Linked DNA regions of Homo sapiens: region 2 is linked to region 1. The links are contacts of gene promoters, found by promoter capture Hi-C in human tissues and cell types (Jung and others, 2019). All regions are on one chromosome and are shown on one strand. The core of a region is centred on a gene start or on the middle of the fragment in contact, and the rest is flanking DNA. Distances in the headings are between cores, read along the strand shown.

Region 1 (6,764 bases), core at 2,739-5,238:
CTGAATTTTAAAAAAACATATACACATGTAATGAATACCTACTAGCTTCATCTCTTTCTGACTTGTAGTTCCAGCTTTAAAAACCAAATTAGAAATCATGACAGAGAGACCCTGGGGGATTTGGGGGCACTTTACCATCAGGAAAGGGCATGGACTTTAGCACAAAGCCTCAGCAGCAGCTATGCTGACTCATCAGAGGCCTTTCCCACTCTTCCAGGTGTTTAAGTTCTGAGCAGCTACCTCGAGAGGGCCTGCTGGATAACTGAGGCGTTTACTGGCAGAGTCTCATTTCATTCACGTGCCCCTAGGAAGAAAGGAATGGGGCACTGCCTTTCCAAAGAAGATGCCCAGAGTCACATGAAATCCACATCCGTGAAGTTTCCTTGAAGGAAGCAATTTTTTAATTTTGATGTCAGAGACTCTCCAGACTCAGGAAGCATTTCCGGGTGGCTTGGGACTTAGTTTCCTTTCACAAGCTGCTTCAGCCTGAGACCAAACCTCAGCGGTGCACACATACTTTCCTTCACTTGAGGAGCTCAGCCTCCACGCTGGCTGGAGGAAAGGAGCATTTGTCTTTACCCAGTCATATGCCTACCTGGTTCCTCTCTGGGCCCAGAGAAAGCATTTCTGAGATAGCCACACTAGACTAGGCAGGTGACATTACTAAGGCATGTTGACTTGGAGGAAGAGGGATTAGGAGAAAGAGAGAGAACCCTGCACTGTGGGGTAGGAGACCCACAGTCCTTCTAATCTCTTCTTTATAAGCCACTCCATGACCTTGAGCAAATCGCTTAATCTCTGTCTCAGTTTTGTCAGTCATAAAATGGGATATACCACCTGCCCTACCTTTATCCGTGAGCTGCTGGATTAGATGAAGTTGGCTGTTGGAAGAATTATGAAGCAATACCTATCCCCAGCAAGCCACAACAAAGCCTCTCTTAGCCCTCCATGCAGGTGCAGCCCAAGTCATTGAAAAGTTGCACCCACACTACTAAGCTATGACGCTGGGTCACCATCCATGTCAGAAGCAGGAGGTGAAGGGGCTTGGGTCTAAAACTAGAAAACCATGATCAGGAAACAAGAAGTCCCTTCAGGAGGTAATGAGGTACCCCCTACCACCACTGCCCCCTCTTCTGGAGTTAAAAGATCCTATTGAGGCTCCCGGTGCGGGACCATAGCAGGACAGAGCTGAACATCCATTCTCCCTCCCTGGGCCACAGATCCCTGCAAAGAATAATCCTTTAACCCCATTATTGCCTTTCCTCCCTGAGAGAGCTGACCGACCTCCTACAGGTAATAGGCTAAAGGTGCTCTCAACCTCAGGAGACTTCTTTTCAGCACTCACCTAAAAGTTAGTTTCCAAACTTAAAAAGTGTCTGGACTCCAAATATCAAGCTGCCAGTCACAGAACAAAGGCTGTGATCTAGACCAGCCTGGGCAGCATAGTGAAACCCCATCTCTAAAAAAATTTAAAACAGTTAGCTGGGGCCAGGCAGGGTGGCTCACACCTGTAATCCCAGCACTTTGGGAGGCCGAGGCGGGTGGCTCACGAGGTCAGGAGATCAAGACCATCCTGGCTAACATGGTGAAACCCCGTCTCTACTAAAAAATACAAAAAATTAGCCGGGCGTGGTGGCACGCGCCTGTAATCCCAGCTACTCGGGAGGCTGAGGCAGGAGAATGGCGTGAACCCAGGAGGCGGAGCTTGCAGTGAGCCGAGATCGCACACTGCACTCCAGCCTGGGTGACAGAGCGAGACTCCGTCTCAAAAAACAAACAAACAAACAAACAAAAAGCTGGGTGTGGTGGTGTGCACCTGTAATCTCAGCTACTCTGGAGACTGAGGCAGGAGGATCGCTGAAGCCTAGGAGTTCGGGGATGCAGTGAGCTAGGATCCCAACACTGCACTCCAGTCTGGGCAAAAGAGCAAGACCCAGACTTTAAAAAAAAAAAAAAAAAAAAAAAGCTGTGATCCCCTTAAAAGTCCTAATAGGCCACCACTATCTGCCCTTTTGGCAAGAACTTTTGGTCTCCCTCATGAGTGGTTTTTTTTTGTTGTTGTTTGTTTGTTTTTAAATACGGATGTCCTAGATTTTTGTTGTTTTAAGTGAACAATCTCTCTCTTAAGTGCAGACAGCCATCACATTTTCCAGAAGGAGAAATGGAAACAGTTGGAAAGGCAAGTCACTTTGCCCAGGGTTTGCTGTTTTTCACAACCTCAGCAATGAGGAGCTTTGCCTCAATAACTCAAGACAAAATATATTAATAACTCCAAGGCTCAGAATCCAAAATCATCAGAAATCTGGAGAAGGAGCCAGCTGGACTCCTCACTCAACTGAACCTGGTTAGATCAGTAAATGCCTCCGGGCTGCAGTTTCCCCATTTGTGAACTTTGGGCTAATGGAGAAACCAGGAGAGACCAAGGTTTTGGATAAGTCACAGAAAGGATACTACATCATCTCAAAGGATGAAATGCAACTTCTAAGAATTGCAAAAAGCAGGCAAAACTAAGTGAAGATGCTTCTCTCCCTCCCCTCTAGAACTCACACTTTCGCACAAAGAAAGGCCTTTGAAACACAGCACTCTGCCGTGGTCTTTACTGGGGTGGACAGCAACCTGTCCCAAGCCCCAAGCCCTCAGGAGAGGCATATTTCTGGGCAATATGTCTCACTCAACTAACCCCAGCCCTATTATCCGTGGGTCCACTGATAACTGCAGAAAATTGCCAGCTTCCTTCGCAGCCAAGGACTGTAACAGAGAAGGCCATAGATTGCAAGCCGGATGACCCAAGAGGCAAAACTTAACCAATGCTCCCAGAAGCTTTTAGGCACCATGTGGGAGAAAATGAGGCGAAGCCACTGGGGCGTGGTCGGAACATTTTTACCGGGGAGAGCAGCGCGAGAGTATAAGGAGTAAAGAACAGGCGGGGCGGCTGGCTCTTCCCTAACAAACGCCCACCTAACGGTGGGGACTGGTTCTTGCTCAAAGATGCGGCCCTGCTCTTTCGATTGTGCGGTGCGCCCCAGCTGTTTGCAAAGGTGTGGTCAGCACGCAAAAACTCCAGACGTCATTTTGATATTTTTAAAACGTTAAACGCCACCAGCAGCCAGCTAAGAATTAACTCTTAGGAGTGTATAAGCATATGGGTGTATGAACTGGAGGGCATCCGAGAACTGGCGTCTCCCACTGGGCCCTGGGAGAGGTGGAGAGTGTTACCTGGCCAGGTCGAGGAAAGAGTCCACCGTCTCTTTGGGGACAGGAGGAGGCCCCGAGTCCTCCAGCCCCAGGTCGCTGGACTGAAGGGTCTGCGCACCGGATCCTGGCTTGATGATGAACGCCAAGGCCACGGCGAGCGCCGAGGCACTCAGTGTGGTGAGGCCAAAGTAGGCGACAGCGATGCCGCCCAGACGCCCGAGGCAGCTGGCATCGAGCGAGGCGGCGCCCGACACCAGGCTGCAGACCACCAGCGGCAGGATGATCATGCGCAGCATGCGGAGCAGCATCTCGCCGGGGAAGGCCAGGTAGGTGACCTGCGTGCGGCTCAGGCTGAGCCCGCGCAACGCCGCGCCCAGGCCCGCGCCCGCCAGCACCCCGGACACGGTGAGCAGCACCAGCGCTTGGCGCCGCAGGAAGCCCGCGCAACGCCGTGCGCGTCCCGCCGCGGTCCCCGGAGCTCCGGGCCCGGCCGCAGGCCCCGCCTGAGCGCTGTCAAGGTAGCCGTTGGTCTCGTTGCTCTTCTCCATGGCGCTACACGCCGCTCCGAGCTAGAGGTGGCAGGGGACGTGGGCTCTGGCAAAAGACGGGGTTCCCAATGAATGGGTCGGTCGGCCAGTTGTGCTCCGCAGGTTCTGGGAAGCCGCCCCGGGGGTCTCCGGGCCTGGCGCAGGAGCAGGTGCGAGAAAGGCGAGGAGAGGCGCAGAGTGCGGGTTGGAGCCGCGGGCGGAGAGGATCGCGCCCAGCCTCCCTGGAGCAGCCGCCGGCTGGAGATGATGCAAACGGGAGCCGCGAACGCGGACGCAGACGGGGAAGTAGGAGGGCGCGCCAGCGGCCCCAGCCCGCTCACTTCACGCCCGCCGTCCCGCCCCCTGTGGCGCTGGCCAATCACAGCCCGGGAGCCGCCGCCGGGAGCCGCCGCCGGGAGCCTCTGGTCCCCACCCGTGTCGCGGGTGCCGCAGGGGGCGGCCGGGCGGGAGGCTCCACCCGAGGCCGCGGGGGCGCGGGCGGCGCCGGCCAATCCTGGCGCCAATAGCCGCCTACCCGCCCGGCTAACGGAGGCCGGCTCCGGGCGACCGCGGGGAAGTGCGGGCTGAAGGACCGCCCGGGCTCCTTGGCACCTGCCGGGCCCTCTCCCGCGGCCGGGATCTGAGTCCTCGGGGCCAGAGGGCCCGGGAGAACTTAGAACGCAGCGGCGTTCCTCCTCCTGAGGACTGTGGGAGGGGAGGGAGGGGAGGGGAGAAGAGAGGAGGAGAGGGGAGGATCCCTCTCTCCCGGGTGGCGCTTTCGCCCCGCGCGGCCCGCGCTCCTCTCCAGAGCTCGCCGGCCTCTCCCGCCAGGGGGCCGGGCGCGGTGAGGGGGCCCGGGGCGGTCCTGCCGTCGCGTCCCCTCCTGCGGAAGATCCCTTCTTCCAGGGGTCCTCAGGGGCTTGTGCGGTAAAGCACGCCATGGTGCCCAGCAAGGCCCCGGCCTTGAGACAAAGGACGGACCGGAGGATGGATGAATAAGGGGAGCCTTCGCACGCGCTCATTAGGGCTCTAACGCAGCCATACCGCTAGAGAAAGGGGGCTCGCTGTGCCACCAAACCCGGCGCCCCTGGGCCGCGGAACCGCGCGCACCGGGGCGCTCCTGGGCTTGTGTCCTGGGGCCATCAGGATGGGGCTGGGTCGCCCGCCAGGCAGCTGTCTGCGGTATGGGCGTTTAAGACGCAAAGCTCTTCTAGAAGAAACAGAGCTCTCACGCCACCACTTCCAGTTGGTTTCTGCCACGTAACCAAAGCTGAAACACAAGCCACTGGATTTTAACCTCTTCCGTTCCCAGGCCTGAGCCCTGGCGAGAAAACAGCGCAGACGGCGGTTTGGCCATCCTGAACGGTTCCTTATTGTTCACGTTCTATGGATTTCCTGTTTATTTCATCTTTTATTTGATATCTGCTTTGGCCACGCGAGTTACAAGGGAAACTTCTGCTGAGTCTTTTTACTGTATCACAGTTATTATATTTTTATATTTTTTTATTCTGCTTGTGAATTGTTCTTTAAAGACTTCCGTGGGTGGTCTTTTGTTTTTTCTTTTTCCTTCCTTCCTTCCTTCCTTCCTTCCTTCCTTCCTTCCTTCCTTCCTCCCCCCCTCCCTCCCTCCCTCCCTTCCTTCCTTCTTTCCTTCTTTCCCTTTCTTTCCTTTCTTTCCTCTCTTTCTGGGACAAGGTCTCGCTATGTTGCCCAGGCTGGTCTCCCAGTTCCTGGGCTTATGGGATCCTCCTTGGTAGCTGGCACCACCCACTGTGCCAGGCAAGGGAAGACTTAATTGTGGCTAACCTCAATTAAGGAGGAAGGCAATTTACTATAGATTTCTTGCTATAAAGGAGTCATCTTAAAACATGTCATGACATATTTGTGCAAATCAAAATGCCTTCATAAGGAACTTTAAGGAGCTGTCCAAATTTTGAGACAGTGAGTATTTTATTGCTTGGAGCCAGCCAGCTATTGGCTAGAACTTGTAAGGATTGTGTGTGGGGGGGGGGGGGGTGGGCGGGGGAGGTAGTGTCAGATGAAGAGCTGCACATATTTATATCTGGCTTTCCAGAATGCAGTTCATTTCTCTATGTGCACTGAAGAAAGAGTAATTCCTACAGACACACACTGTGTTTTGCCAATCAGCCCTTCCCTTTGTTTTGACTACCACGTTTATGCAAAAGACTCTCAAATCATGCTCCAGAAATGAGTCTTCGGCTGCCTGTTTTACATCTTCACCTGAATATCCTGCAGGCGTCCCAACTAAAATGTTCAAAACCAAACTCATGGTTGCCTTCCTCAAACCTGCTCATCCCTTCGGTTAAAACATAATTGATGACCCAGTCACCTCTGTGTGAAACTTCAAAGCGAACTTTGATTCTTCCCTCTGTGGTGCCTTCTCTCATCTAATGAATTGCCAAGTCCCACAGAGATTCCTTTCACAATATTTATCACATCTGCCCATCCCATCTATTCCCACTGCTACCACACTGGCTCAGTTCTTATTTCCTCACTTCTTATCTGGGCTATTGAAATGTTCTCCCAATTAGTCTTCCCACCTCCAATGCTCCTCTTGTTCCAACCATCCTGTATTTTGCCTTGCCCCAGGCTAATCTTCCTAATGAGTAATATACATGTTAGGATAAAGTTCAGCTTTCACCCAGCAGAAAAGAAAGAGCAATGAGGGCATGGCATCTCTCTTTAAAAACACTTCCTAAAAGTCATACACATTATTTCTCTTATATTTCATCGATAAGAATTTAGTCAAATGACCATTCTTTTCTGCAAGAAACGTTAGGGAATGTAATTTTTGTTTTACACAGGCATCCACCCAGTTAAAAAATTGGAGTTTCTGTTACTAAGGAAACACAGAAAAATGATATTGGAGGACAACTCCTTCATATCACTTCTTGTTCAAAAGCTTTCAGTGGCTCCCAGTGAATTAAGAATGTGTTCCTCATCCTGGCATTCGAGACCTACCATGATCTGGCCTCAGCCTGCTCTCTAGCCATGTGCCCTCTATGCCTCCTGCAAAAATGG
Region 2 (6,764 bases), core at 1,472-3,971, 360 kb after region 1:
CTCACAGAGCTGGACCACATCATGGAGGTGCTTGTTGGGTCCTAAGACCCAGGGACCCAGCGACTATGCCCACCCAGACCCCAGAGCGTTCCCATAACCCTGACAGTTCTCCACACTGTGCATGCACCCTTGCTTGCCTTTTTCAGAGAAAAAGAAAATTTTACAACAGGATCACACTAGTTTTTGCTTTGAGCAGAGTTGGAGTGCCTTCATCCAAGTATGACCACTTTTAATACACTTTTTTGAGTGGTTCCTCAGAGACCTACTACCCTGGTATAGGAAAGAATCCATTTGAAGACAATGTTGCAATGTTGAATGACAAAAATAAACAGTTCAAGTGAAGCACAAGGATTAAGTTGGAAAAGCTGTAAATTGCATGTGCATATTTGTCTATTTTTTCTATAAGTTTTATTGCAAGAGGTAAAGAAGAAAACTATATATATATATCTTATTTAGATAATCTCAGTACCTTTTCTGGCATTTTTGCCCTGTATAGGTTGACTTGGCAATTCGGCCTTTTTAGAGGCATTAACTACTCCTCGTAAGTGTTGCATTTACATGGCTGTTTAGAAAACTGCTGCCCAAATTTATTTTATATTTTTGTACAGATTCTGCAGTTTATGATATTGTTTTTCTAAAAACAAATGCTGTTTATACATATGAGATAGCTATTTTGATAGGATTTGCTCACATAGTTCCTGCAAACTTCAGATGTACAAGTTGCACTTGTACTTTTATAGAGTTGTAATGTTTTATATGTGTATGGTGCAAGAGAAAATTGGATCAAATCAATCTGCAGTTGATGTCCCCAAATGCAAACACAGGCACACACATGCACACACCCATAAACACACACACAGTGCTTTAAGAAAGGGCCAGGTGATATCACACCCAAATTTCACAAGCACTGACCCCCTGGCACCAACACCCGCCAGTACTGTGACTTCCAAAGCCAGAGCCACATGTGCTCATCAAACTTGCATTAAGCAGTTGGCGGGAGATGGCTGTGGAGCTGGGGGTTTAAGTGATGGTTCTCTTTTGCTCCCTCTTTTGAGGGTAAAGCTACTGTCTTTCTTAAGAGTGTATTTATGCCAAGTTTGCGCTTTTAATTGTTTTTATTTTGTTTTTTAATGAAAACCCAGATCTTTCCTTTTTGGCATAATTTTTATGATGACCTGAAATTTTACATCCGAACAAAATTTTACATCCGAAAAGCAACCAACTTCTTCATGGAACTCAGCCCTGTTGCAATGCTTAGGGCCCTTAAAGAAGAAAATCTCCCCAGAAGGCATCCATCATGTTGCTTAATTGTCTTCTGCAGCTTCCTTTCCCTAGAGCTTTCCCTGTGTTGCTAAGAGCTGAAAATGGCATCTTCGTGATCACCACAGTGAGCTTGGCTCGCCTCGGCCGGCCCGGGATGCACTCTTACAACATGTGTGACTCTTGAACCTGGAGTTCATCACATTACGTCACAGCTTCCCATCTGGTTGCTTTCCTGAGTCAGCTACTTCACACTTGTCAAGGCTGTTTTACCCCAAAACTCAGACAGGACTTTCTATGCATGTTTTCCCTCCTCCCCCCAATTCCCCCCCCCATCACCTTATCTCCCAGGACACACTTGAGAAGTAGCTTTTTATTCCTAGTGGTGTACATTTAATTTTAAAAAGGTTGCAATGTATCATGCTTGTTGCCGAAACTGTTTATGGCCTTCTTGTTTCAGTTTTTTCTTTTCTTCCAATGGTACTTTAGCTGTTGAGTGCAGGTTACAACCTATATTGTTATGCAGATGGCTTCTTTAGGAATAACTTTTATATTTATTTAAAAATTTTTAAATTATGGGATGTTTTGTTGTTGTTGTTGTCTTTGTTGTTGGTCATTTGTCAATATTCAGTCACCAATTCTGCTCACTTCTTGCCATGGATAAAATTGGGTCTTTCTGGCTAATTAAAAAAGACAACTTTATAAAATGGCACTTTAAGCAAGCCATAGTTAGTTTTATTTTTGTAATGCACATGGCAAAGCAAAGACGTTTGTGATGAAGGAACTGCTCATCTAAGCAAAAGATTTGAGTATGATATGATAAAGGCTTTCTACATTCTAATTTACTTTTTCCCCCCACTTGAATGTGTTTTAAAGGCTAATTATCAGCTCAGTAGAGCAGTGAGAAACTGATCAAATTGCACTTGTTCTCCTACAAGCAACCTCCACGCAGACACCTCGTACTGCTACAGGTGTGTCATTTCCTTTAATAGGACCAGGGACCATGTAACTGAGGTGAGGGTTGTAGTAGATGCTTCCAGTGTCAGTATGCCTGTTAATTTTAAGAGCTTCCCTTTCTTGCAGAGAACAAGTCTGCCCAGATTCCATGCTTTCTATAACTGGAGGACCTGGCAAACCTGCCGCATGCTGCACACATCTACCTACGTACACATATACAATAGTATTGATGATTCTGAACAATAACAGGGTAAAACAGTTGGTTTGCCATTGTTAAAAACTGATTTACAGTAACTTACAACAACTGTACTTTTGTTGGATTAGCAAATCATGTGTTTAAACAAATCCCATATGTTGGGCAACAGTTCAAATAAGCACGGAGAAGTGTTGCCCAAACTTGGTTCTCTGACTCTTATGTATTTGTAAGGCTGGGCTTCAAAATCAAAACAAAAACCCCAAAAACAGCAGGCAAATGCTTTTTAACTCTGACACCGTTGCCATAAATCCCTGATACTCAAAGTCTAACAAGAAAGACATGGAAAATTAGCAGCCCATTTTCAGAAAGATCAAAATGATCTAGGGTTCTAATTGCTTTTGCATCCTATTCTTACAAAGTGATGTCCCAACAGGGAACAGTAGGAGCTGGAGTGGGATCTCCAAGTCCCAGTTTGAGTGTGGGATGTGCTTCCAGCAGTGCCTTCCCTTTATGAAAGACATCACATGGCATCCAGGGCCAGGCAGGCAGCTTGAGGTGCCTTTACGAGAAAACCGAGCTGGGGCTGGGAGAGGACAGTTATTGACACTGATGTGCAATGAAGTGACAAGATGAGAGCAGAATCGTAAGAGCTTTGAATTTGAAGTGAGTTTTTTTCCCCCCATAAGTTATTTATTCCTTTTTTCTGTGTAAATATATTTATTTTACTGTGGAGCGCTAACATCTGGATCGTAACATGTGCAGAATGTATGGTAGGAATGTATTCTCTTGTAGGAATGTAAATCTGTATTAAAAGGGGGTCCAAGCCAGGCCCCCAGGTCTTCTCATTGTATGCACAGTCCGCATTCATTTTTACTCTTCTCTAATATGGGTCTATTTGAAATATGCAAAAGGTATGAGGAATGTTTTAATACCTCCAAATTTTTAAGAAAAGCATCAAAGGGTTGATATTTTTTAAAGTTTTTTTAGTAGCACTTTCTCTGGATGACAGAAGGAGCAACCACATGGGCACCCTTGTTCATACCAAAGGGTGAGCAGTGGCCAGAGCCTCCTCTGCACCTCTCGAGTGTCTTTACCAATTGAGCTTTTTATCGCCATAGCCCCTTGGAGTGCCCCAGCTGCCCTGAGGTCAATCAAGGAAAATTTCTTAATGAAATAAGCTCCAAAGAGCCAAAGTATCAACTTACAGATCGTTTTTAAAGCTTAAATTTATGAACCACCTTTGTGGTAAACAATGAATTATGAATACCGCAGGGCAGCCTTCTTAAATGACAAATGTAAAAAAAAAAAAAAAAAAGACTCTACTTCGTGCAGCAATTGCTACTCTATACGAATTGTCTTAATTTGAAAACCTTGCTGTTACAAATTGGACCTTTATACATTTTCTGAAAACAATGAAAAGAGTATATTTAACCTTTTCTGGCTGTAAATGGTTACCTTCCTGTAACTGCCCCGCACCTGGAGGCATGGAGTTGTGTGCATCCTGCTTATGTACAATTGTTTTCAGTGTTTCTAAGAATGAGTCTGAATGGTTCTTGAAAATTAGCCAGGATCAAATGCTATTGCAGACAAAGCCAATAAAAAGTTGGACTTCTTTTGGGGATAACAAGTTTTGGAAGAGAAATGCAGGCCATATGTGCGCATGACCGAGATTTTGAAAAAAGATGTACATAGTGACATGTTTGGTGCATGGTTTTTGAGGAGGGCTTTTGTCAAAAAGGAGGTATAACCTTTCCCCCACAGACCTGAGAGCTGTGCCTTTTCTATGCAATATTACAGACGTTACATCGGAACCCAGATGGCTGTATTCACATGTAGGTTTGGGCTGTAATCTAAACAATTGGACAGATTAAATGTACATGGAAATGAGCAGTCTTACTTTTGTAGTTTTATATTATACAATAAACAGTTAAAAGATGAGAGAGGCATGCTTGCAGTTTTCTTTTGATGGGAGCTCAATCAGCTTATTTGTGACAGTTTGCTCACATTAAGCAAAGTCCAGCAAGAGAGAGCAGCAGGGGGGCCCCGAAGGAGTGCGTGCTGTTGGTCTTCCTGAACCGTCCTGGTCTCAGGAACCACCCTTCTCTCCTGGTTCTCCTCCTGCTTCTTGGACCCTTCTGGACCTCCTTTTTCTCACATCTGTGCCCCAGCTCTCTTTAAAACATTGTCTTTTCCAGGGTTTGGCCCATGACTGCACTTCACTGAGCCTCCATTCCTGCTGCCTCTTGCTTTCCCAAGGTGATCTAATCCACTCAGGACTCTCAAAACTGGTCTCCAGCCCCTGCCTCTCTCCTGAGCTCCAGACTTCAGTATCTACCAAGATTTGCTCCCTCACTCTCAGCGCGTCTAAAGAGCTCTCGTTTCCCCTGGGGGCTGATTCTTCTGTGGGCTCGTTGTCTTCAGCACTCTGCTCCACGCTTGGCTCAGTTGCCCACCCTTGCACCCTGTTCCGCAGTCCCAGCCATGTCATTCCCTCTGCCACCACCTCTCCATCCTCACCATAGCGTCCCCAGCTCGGACCCTTTCTCTCTCCTTGCCTCTGACCGCCGTACCTGTTTCCTGACTAGTCTTCCTGCTGTGATCGTCTCTCTACCATCCCTGATGCTGGAGTTGACATTCTAAAATGCCAGTGGGTCACGTGGTTGTTGCACGTCCTCCAGGTGTACCCACTGATTATACCATCTGGACCCTGCCCCTGCTGTCTTCCAGTGGGGAGTGGGGGAGACCCTGTGCAACCTCCTTGGCCACTGGGCTGTCTTGGATGGAGTCATGGGATCTGGCCTCACCTGGCCTAGGCAGTTTTTTATTTTGGTGTGGTTGGGCCACCACACCACTGGCAAGGGAAAAGGGATGGATGTGTGAGACCTGGGAAGTGAAGGTTCAGCTCAATCAGCAGTGGAATGTGAGGTGGGGTGTGAAGTGCTGGGGAGGTGTTAGGGGCTGAATTGTTTCCCCCAAAAAGGTAGGTTTCAGTACCTCAGAATGTGACTTTAATTTGGAAGTGGGGTCTTTATAGAGGTAATTAGGTTAAAATGAGGTTATTAGTGTGGGCCCTAATTCAGTGGCTAATGTCCTTATAAAAAGATATTTGAACACATACATGCATACATGGAGAAGGCCATGTGACAGTGAAGGCAGAGACTGGGGCGGTGGATCTACAAACCAAGGAGTGCCAAAGATACCAGCAAACCACCAGAAGGCAGGAGAGAGGCATGGGACAGACACTTTCTTACGGCCCTCAAAGCAACCAAGCCTGCTAGCACCTCAATCCTGGACTTCTAGCTCTAGAAAAATAAATTTCTGTTGTTCCAGCCACCCAGTCTGGGACACTTTGTTTCAGCAGCCCTAGCACACTGATGCAGGGGTAGAAGAACAGGGCGAGCACTTTCCAGACACCCGGCGGAGATAAGCACCAGGCAACTAGGACGGAGGGTCCGTTGTTCAGTAGAGTGGTTTGTATCTGGAATTAGGAGCTTCTGCTATTAATTAATGATAAAACTTTGGCAAATCATTCAATCTCTGTATTTATGAGGATGAGATAAAGCGTGGCTCCCAGAGCTCTTTGAAAATGTTGACAGTACAATGAAAATGCAAATTATGAATGTCGTATCTGTCCTCATGCCTAGAGCTGTGCCCAGCATATGGTAGGCACTCAAAATGTTTGTTGAATGAAAAGAAGAAAAAACAATCTTGTAGTTCATCTTTCTTTATAGAATGAGAGAAGCCCAGCACTCAACATCTTTCTTGTCTGGGTCCTGGGTTCACACCACACTCGCCCTCAGGATGTGCTGCTTTGCCAGCACGCACCAGCAGCCTGCCTCCACGTGTCCTTGCTTGCACCTGCCCCTTCTGCTTGTGGAAATTCTGCCCATCATTCCAAGGCCAAACTCAAATGCCTGTCCATGAAACCTCTGCATGCCTGGAGTCAAAACCAGCCTTTTCCTCTTCTGGGCTTTCCCAGAGCTCCATGCCTCCGCAAATGCACTTAGCAAGTCCTGCCGCGTCTTCGGATTAGCTGTGCAGTTTGTTGTCTCTGTACTCCCTGTATCCTTAAGAGCAGCAACCCTGTGTTGTTTATCTTTGACAGAGGTTGGCAAACTGCAGCTTACAGGCCAGATCCTGTCCACTGCCTGCTTTTGTAAGAAAAGCATTGCTGGAACCTGGCCACGCTCGTGTATCTGTGTGTTGCCCTGTCTGCTGTCTTACTACGATGGCAGAGTTGAGTAGTTGCAAAAAGACCACATGGCCCTCAAAGTCTGAACTATTTGCTATTTGGCCCTTTACAGAAAAAGTTTGCCAAATCCTGATCTTTGCAACTCTCCCAATACTGAGA

Evidence for each region. The method cuts DNA at HindIII sites, captures the fragments that hold promoters and counts their contacts. A contact is called where the count stands out against the background at its distance.
Region 2: a contact is called between a fragment that was not itself captured here and the fragment with the promoter of SLC1A4 in region 1, in 1 of the 25 tissues and cell types used here (liver).

Annotation. Positions count from the first base shown.
Region 1 is chr2:64,986,623-64,993,386 of GRCh38, reverse strand. SLC1A4 (solute carrier family 1 member 4) reads right to left here and starts at 3,988. Exons shown (of 8, transcript NM_003038.5): 1 at 3,217-3,988. The coding sequence starts at 3,743. RefSeq lists silencers at 3,589-3,768, 3,979-4,678 and an enhancer at 3,402-3,986. The HindIII fragment of the contact is 13,271 bases long and covers 77-6,764 here.
Region 2 is chr2:64,629,208-64,635,971 of GRCh38, reverse strand. SERTAD2 (SERTA domain containing 2) reads left to right here. Exons shown (of 2, transcript NM_014755.3): 2 at 1-4,351. The coding sequence ends at 45. Among named protein-coding and RNA genes, the nearest start is that of SERTAD2-AS1, 4.3 kb to the left of the region's middle. The HindIII fragment of the contact is 5,305 bases long and covers 69-5,373 here.